Regions from separate parts of the Homo sapiens genome. Here region 2 is linked to region 1. Evidence: promoter capture Hi-C in human tissues and cell types (Jung and others, 2019). All regions are on one chromosome and are shown on one strand. The core of a region is centred on a gene start or on the middle of the fragment in contact, and the rest is flanking DNA. Distances in the headings are between cores, read along the strand shown.

What was found. Contacts are between HindIII fragments. The study calls those that stand out against the background at their distance.
Region 2: a fragment that was not itself captured here is called in contact with the fragment with the promoter of CYP3A7 in region 1 in 3 of the 25 tissues and cell types used here (liver, mesendoderm cells and thymus).

Annotation. Positions count from the first base shown.
Region 1 is chr7:99,732,435-99,736,546 of GRCh38, forward strand. It overlaps CYP3A7 (cytochrome P450 family 3 subfamily A member 7), which reads right to left and starts at 2,762. Exons shown (of 13, transcript NM_000765.5): 1 at 2,589-2,762. The coding sequence starts at 2,659. CYP3A7-CYP3A51P (CYP3A7-CYP3A51P readthrough) reads right to left here and starts at 2,762. Exons shown (of 15, transcript NM_001256497.3): 1 at 2,589-2,762. The coding sequence starts at 2,659. It also overlaps a transcript of ZSCAN25 not described here. RefSeq lists promoters at 2,659-4,112, 2,659-2,901 and enhancers at 2,907-2,937, 3,922-4,112. The HindIII fragment of the contact is 8,535 bases long and covers 1-4,112 here.
Region 2 is chr7:100,019,994-100,023,802 of GRCh38, forward strand. ZKSCAN1 (zinc finger with KRAB and SCAN domains 1) reads left to right here. Exons shown (of 6, transcript NM_003439.4): 2 at 3,426-3,809. The coding sequence starts at 3,514. Among named protein-coding and RNA genes, the nearest start is that of ZKSCAN1, 6.3 kb to the left of the region's middle. The HindIII fragment of the contact is 5,144 bases long and covers 1-3,809 here.

The DNA of each region.
Region 1 (4,112 bases), core at 1,512-4,011:
TGCTCATTTTTTTTCAAGGTGATCAATTACAAAGCAGTCAGTTTATTGCGTCTGCACATCAACTGTCTCTGTAGGAAAACCCATCAAGGCTGCTGCTCCCTATAGCAGGCCTGCTTGCAACCCATCTTTGATGGGCCATGTATGGACTTCCCCAACTGGGGATTCTGGATATCTGAAGACCTTCCCAGTTTGAGGTTACTGAGGGGTGGAAGACTGGATGAAGCAGAAAAGTTGATGGAAGAGGTAGCCAGCCATCAATTCAACCATGAATCTGCTAGTCCCACAAGCTTGGCCCCAGACAGGCAAATTAGGAAAATGTGGTTCAAAAGTACGGTGTGTATAAATGGATCCATATGCCTCATATGTGCTTTCAGCTGAAAGGCAGGCACCTTCTAATGGCCAGGTACCTTCCTGTTGATAGCAAAAGATGGAGTATTCCACATAAGTAACCATAAAATGTTCCAGATAGTTGAATTAAGACCTTGTTTTCTCTTCTTTAAAGGGTAGCCATTAAGGCAGTATAGGTTCCAAACATTCTGTACAAATCCAGTGACTCTGATAATATGTGGTAAAATACAACTAAGAAACAGCATGGAGGCTCGTGTTTGGAGAACCCAGCAGAGACAGCATAGCCAGGCCCAATAGTGCATTTGGATCCTTGCCCCAGAATAGTTAGTGGAAGTGTGTGCACCATCTACCACAACCAGGGTGGCCTTGGGTTTTCCCACTCCTGTTCCTTCCTTTGTTGTCACAGCCATGGAAAATCAATGGCACTAATCTCTGCTTCTAAACTTTCTACATGTTACATGATCTCTCAGGCCAGGACAAACTATTGAGTTAATGTGTGAGCAGCATTGGCCCCCGAGGAAAGATCTAGGTGAGTGTCTAGATTCACATGATTCCACGTCAAGGCAGAGGCTGTGCTTGGCAAACTGTTTAGTTTCTTTCCAGCTCCCCTCTGTTTGGTAGAGTAATGCTGCTTTTTGTTACAATGAAGAGGCTAACAGAAAAATCCATCATCTATTGCATGTAATTGTATAGGCCTAAGAAGGGCATGGTCTACACTATAGCTTCTGAATCCTGGGCTGTACCGGCATCGTCTAAGGCTAAGGTATTGTCTGCCTGACTGCCAGAATCTGTAGTGACAGCCCCACAACATGGCCAGCCACACACAGAGTGACACTGATGGTGCCCTTGTGTCCAGGCTTCAAGCAGATGAGATGCCAACATGTTTGTCCTTCAAGTGACCTCCACTAGGGGGCCAGGACCCATGAATATCTATTTGGAGTTCTACCCTGAGGGGTAAGGAATATTTTCTCACTTCATCTTGATCCTACCTGGATGCTTTTGCTATCATCACTGGCTCACAGTCTTGCTTACTTTCTAGCCCTGAGAGTTTAGGATAACCTGCTAAGCAGGTGTATTTGAAATGGGGGTATTAAAATAAACTCTTGGGAAAGTATTTTTAAAAAGACATATGCAGTCTTGTCCTAGAGATATATATTTGTACATTAGACTCATATTCCTGACATTATTCTGGAAAGGTGAGGTTATCTTATACACATTTATTGTCACAAATACTGAACTAATAGCCCTCTTTTATCACTCAGAAGGAACATGCTGGAAATAGTCTATCTCCAAAAAAATCTGGCTTTAAAAAGGATGAATTTAAGCCACACCAATTCATGTTAAATTGCCAGTAGATGGAAACTATGTTACCACAACTCACTGAATTGCTAACTTTTCTGTGAAAGAATTAAAACGAGGTTTGTATTTTCTGTTTCCATGTGACCATGATTCCTTACTCTTAATAACTGTGAAATTGAGTTAGAAGTAAAATGTGACAGGCGGGAAGCCTCCAGTACACACAGTAGGGAGTGACTCTTCTCTCCACCTGCTCTAGGATGCCAGGATCTCACTGGTGAGAAGATTCACCCTCTTCTCCTGCAACTTAAAGGGAAAAATGTAAAATCCAAATTCTGGTTTGGTAAGCTGGGTACAAACCATTGTCTATTAGATTATCCTCAATCAATGCTGTCCCTAAACCCTTCTTTCCACTAAAGATGAATGGGGGAGATGCTTATTTATTCCTTTATAGATCTGCAAAACATCCATCATAACCTCTATATGTTTGTAGCATCCAACACTTAAGCTACTTCTCCTTGAAAATCTTTTTTTTTCTTTTTTTTCTCTTTTTTTTTTTTTGAGATGGAATCTCACTCTGTTACCCAGGCTGGAGTGCAGTGGCATGATCTCAGTTCACTGCAACCTCCGCCTCCCAGGTTCAAGCAATTCTCCTGCCTCAGCCACCCAAGTAGCTGGGACTACAGTTATGCACTACCATGCCCAGCTAATTTTTGTAATTTTAGTAGAGATGGGGTTTCACCATATTAGCCAGGCTGGTCTTGAACTCCTGACCTCAGGCAGTCCACCTGCTCAGCATCCCAAAGTTCTGGGATGACAGGTGTGAGCCACCACGGCCAGCCTGAACATCCTTTTTGCTATTCAAAACAGATAAGGGAAAGAGAGGCCTGATTAGCACCCCAAGTCCAAGGAAACAGAGAAGAGGAGCCTGAACAGTTACTCACAGATAGAGGAGTATCAGGCTGACAGCCAGGAGAAGCCAGGTTTCCACGGCCAAGTTTGGGATGAGATCCATCACTACTTTCCTTCCTTATCTCTCTCCTCTGAGTCTTTTTTTCAGCAGCGTGCTGCTGTTTGCTGGGCTGTGTGTGTGGAGCTTTCCTGCCCTGCACAGCAGTGATTCAGTGAGGCTGTTGGATTGTTTATATGCTGGAGAAGGAGGCAGGGCTGGAGCTGCAGCCAGTAGCAGGGCCCCCGTGCTCTGCCTGCAGTCGGAAGAGGCTTCTCCACCTCGGCAGTTGGCAAATAATCACACACACACCACTCACTGACCTCCATTGAGTTAATATTCTATGTAGAATCATACACAACTCAATCAATGTTACTGGGGAGTCCAAGGGTTCTGGGTTCTTATCACAAACTCAAGTGGAGCCATTGGCATAAAATCTATTAACTCTCCTCTTGTCTCTATGGCTGTCCTCATTCCAGAATACTTGAAACTCATCCCAACAAGCCATGCCTACAGATCTTTACCTATGCCTGGAGTGTGCCTGTGCCCCCTAGAAGACTCCTACACATCCTTTCATACCCAGCCAGACAGAGCCTTCTCTTAGAGTCTTTCCTCACCAACCCCCTCACACAGAAGTAACCATTTCCTCCCCTGGGCACTTTCCATCCCCTTCATGCAGTTCTATTGTCTTCTTTCCTCTTTACCACCATTGTGTGTTTCCAGGCCTGTTTCCCTTAGCAGAGGTGAGCTCCTCAAGGGCATAGTCTGGTCTTACTCACTCTCATGGCTCTGGTCCCTATCAGGGTGCTGTACACACAGTGGGGACCAGAAAGGCTGGTGGAGTTGACTTGGCTGAGATTGCTGGGCCCCTGTGTGTCACTTCCTCTGACTTTCTGGTGACCACTCCATCTTCTTAGGTCATTAATACAGCCAGAGCTCTTGGCTGTGCCTCAGCTGCTGTCTCTGCACTTTCAGATTTGTCCTCTGTGATTCTGTTGGCAAGAGGACCCCTAAAAAAGAGACATGGCATGGATGAGATGGAGCTGATGGCTTAGTGGAATAGCATCAATTTGTGCTTCTTCCTCTGTAGCTTTCAAAAGTCCTGCCGTAGATAGAAAGTTAGACAGGTTCTTTGCCAAAGAGTGGCCCCTTCTCTCTGGAAATACTGCATGTCTGGAAACAGTAGGGGAGAAAGAAGAGAAGAGAACAGCTGCCCAGATGGCCAGGTTGACCCAAACCACCTCAGCCAGCAACAATGGGGCAGTGGTCACTGCAGGTCACACAGCATCAAGGACTCCAATGAGGTGGTCCCAGCCTCTTGAGGGTGGAATTGGAATTCAAAGCAAATGGCTTCCTTTTTGACAAGTGGAGGATTTTCTAATGGGAGGAGAGCAGGTGCCAGGAGCTGGTAGAGATGAGGCCTGTAATAACAGTTGCTGCCACCTGTGAGCCCTGTGACCCATTCCTGATGGGAGAGATCTCAGTGATGAGGGTGTGAAAATTATATCAGCTCATTATC
Region 2 (3,809 bases), core at 483-2,982, 290 kb after region 1:
CGCTCAGCCTCTCAGTTCTTTATACAGTGAGATGATAAGTGTAGCTACCTGCTAAGATTGTTATGTGGTCAAGTGAAAATGCTTAAATACCCGGTACCTAGAAAGCACTCAGTAAACATTGGCTCTTACTGTTATAGTTATGAGAGGGTTCTTGAACAGTGATAAGAGGCAAGTCGCGTTTTAGCTAGCTTTAAAGGTTAAGTAGGATTTGAAAAGGCAGAGAGGACTGCGGGGGGAAGTCCCAGGCATGGAGTGTGATGTGAGGAAAGGATGGCAGTCAAAATACAAGGCATATATAGGAAATACTGATGAGAGGGCTTTTGTTGCATAGGGAAGGTTTATGGGGGGATTGATGGGAAAAGAAGCTTGAGGGAAAATTGGGACCAGGCACTGGAAAGTATTAACTGCAAGGCTGTAGAGTTTTAGAAAGAATAATCTGAAAGGTGGATTGTGGGAGAGAAGGGAGAAAATGAAGGCAGGGAACCAAAGAAAGGAAGCTGGACTTCATGGAACTAGATTAAAAAAAATAAGTATGGCCTGTAATCCCAGCTACTCAGGAGGCTGAGGCAGGAGAATTACTTGAACCCGAGAGGCGGATGTTGCAGTGAGCTGAGATCATGCCATTGCACTCCAGCCTGGGCGATAGAGCAAGACTCCGTTTCAATATATATGTATATATAATTTTTGTGCTGTTATATGTACATGATCCCTTTTTCACCAAAATTAAGAATATGTTTAGTGAGAGCCATAAAACTAAAAATGCTTTTGCTAGTTTAAAACTCGGTTTAACCCATCATGATAAAGCAGTTTAATGGTCTGTTTCTAAAACTTCAATTTGATGCTTAGTTTTGATGGCTGTAGAGGTGAAAAGAATAAATTCAGAAAGATTTGTAGCTTCAGATGGAAGAATCACAGTGTCAGTTCTGCTTAGTAACTTGTGATTGATCCAACCTATCAACCATGCTGAATTTTTGTTGTTGAAATGCAGGGTATAGTCTTACAAACTAATCAGGTGGTGGCATTTTATATTTTTAACAAATAGGCTTAAGACCCACCTGAAATTCTTCATTTGAAAGATTTTTAAACAGGTTAGAAAATATTTCCAAGTTTCTTTTTTTTTTCCTTTTTTTTTTTTTTTTTTTTTTGAGATGGAGTCTCACTTTGTTACCCAGGCTGGAGTGCAATGGCGTGATCTCAGTTCACTGCAACCTCAGCCTCCTGGGTTCAAGCGATTCTCCTGCCTCAGTCTCCCAAATAGCTGGGATTACAGGCGCCTGCTACCATGCCCAGCTAATTTTTTGTATTTTTAGTAGAGACGGGGTTTCACGATGATGGCCAAGCTGGTCTTGAACTCCTGACCGCAGGTGGCCCCCTGCTCCCTGCCTCAGCCTCCCAAAGTGCTGGTATTACAGGCATGAGCCACCTCACCCAGCCCCAAGTTTCTAAAATGTGAACATAGATGGGTTTTTCCTGGATACTTGACATCATTTTTGGCAGTTAAATTACATAACAATGGAACCATTTCATACAGCTGTTCCTGTAATTGCCCTTTCTTCACACTTTCTTTAAAGAAGCTGATTACTCATTGGTGACTTTTTCTTTGATTTAGACTGACATTGGTTTTTACCTCCTAATGTGGCTAAAACCTTACTCTAGATAGAAGCTTCATCTGTGCCATTTTCTTCTTGTTCACATCTGTTTATATTATTAGTGTGTCCTGTAATTGCAGTTTCTCTATAAGAATCTTTTTTTTTTTTTTTTTCCTTTTCCTGATAGGGCTTTGCTCTGTCACCCAGGCTGGAATGCAGTGGCGTGATCGTAGCTGACTGCAGCCTCAAACTTCTGGTTTCATGCAATCCTCCCACCTTAGCCTCCTGAGTAGCTGTGACTGCAGACACAGTCCCCATGCCCAGCTAATTTTTTTCTTTTTCATAGGGACAGGGTCTTGCTATGTTGCCCAGGCTGGTCTCAAACTTCTGGCTTCAAGCATCCTCCTGCCTCATCCTCCCAAAGGGCTGGAATTATAGGCATGAGCTACCATATCTGGCCACAAGAATCTTTAAAGCTGCTTGTCTCTTTTATGACAGAGTCTCGCTCTGTGGCCAGGATGGAGTGCAGTGGCGCGATCTCGGCTCACTGCAACCTCCGCCTCCTGGGTTCAAGTGATTCTCCTTCCTCAGCCTCCCAAGTAGCTGGGACTACAGGTGCCCGCCACCGCGCCCAGCTAATTTTTCTATTTTTAGTAGAGACAGGGTTTCACCATGTTGACCAGGATGGTCCCGATCTCCTGACCTCGTGATCCGCACGCCTTGGCCTCCCAAAGTTTTGGGATTATAGGCATGAGCCACTGCGCCCAGCCAAAGCTAGATTTAGAAATCCATTATTTCACATAACTGGTCTCAGATAAACCAGTCTACATCACAATGTCTAAAATGAACAACACCTGTGACAGGTCAGCACAGACTAAGTAAGTGTATTAGTGTCAATTTATAGCTTAATTTCTCTCTCTTTTAAGATACAGACATTCCAATTATTTTCTTTCTGTATCCTTTGCGGATCATCTTGTACTTTGGAAACCACAATTTAACTGCCCAAGTCACTCATAAAAATAGCAAAAGTAGCTGGATGGTACAAAAGTAGGTCCCAGGGCTTCAAATTTGGTTGAATATTGACTCCAGTAGGCAGCCACCTACTACTGAGCAAACCTAACCCTCAGTTATGTCATTTGTAAAACAGCACTTAACAGTTTGGCCGACCTGCTAGGGCTGTTGTAGGGACAAAAGAAGATGGTGCGTGTACTGCTTTAAGCCTGGCACCTGGCACTCTGCTAACATTCAGCTCTCTGGGCTGGGCACTGTTAATGCTCCATTTCGTAACCTGCTGTCAACCTGCAGGTAAATCACTCTGACTCCAAGCAAACACCCTGAGGGTGGAGTCGGCCTGTTTGAGGTTTCTGTTTGCAAATCTTGATATATGAAGTGACAGTGGAGATTGTACAGTTTTTTCCTCGATTTGTCAGGATTTTTTTTTTTTTGACGGAGTTTAACTTCTTGTCTCCCAGGTAGGAAGTGCAGTGGCGTAATCTCGGCTCACTACAACCTCCACCTCCTGGGTTCAAGCGTTTCTCCTGCCTCAGCTTTCCGAGTAGCTGGGATTACAGGCGCCTGCCACCATGCCCTGCTGACTTTTGTATTTTTAGTAGAGACGGGGTTTCACCATGTTGGCCAGGCTGGTCTTGAACTCCTGACCGCAGGCGATTGGCCTGCCTCGGCCTCCCAAAGTGCTGAGATTACAGGCGTGAGCCACCACCCCCGGCCTCAGGAGCGTTCTGATAGTGCCTCGATGTGCTGCCTCCTATAAAGTGTTAGCAGCACAGATCACTTTTTGTAAAGGTACGTACTAATGACTTTTTTTTTATACTTCAGGAATAGTAAAGAAACACATCATAAAACCTCCCAGGACATAAAGGTGAGCACAGACCCTGTTTGGATCAAGTCAGTTCCTGGAGCCTGAATGATGACTGCTGAATCACGGGAAGCCACGGGTCTGTCCCCACAGGCTGCACAGGAGAAGGATGGTATCGTAATAGTGAAGGTGGAAGAGGAAGATGAGGAAGACCACATGTGGGGGCAGGATTCCACCCTACAGGACACGCCTCCTCCAGACCCAGAGATATTCCGCCAACGCTTCAGGCGCTTCTGTTACCAGAACACTTTTGGGCCCCGAGAGGCTCTCAGTCGGCTGAAGGAACTTTGTCATCAGTGGCTGCGGCCAGAAATAAACACCAAGGAACAGATCCTGGAGCTTCT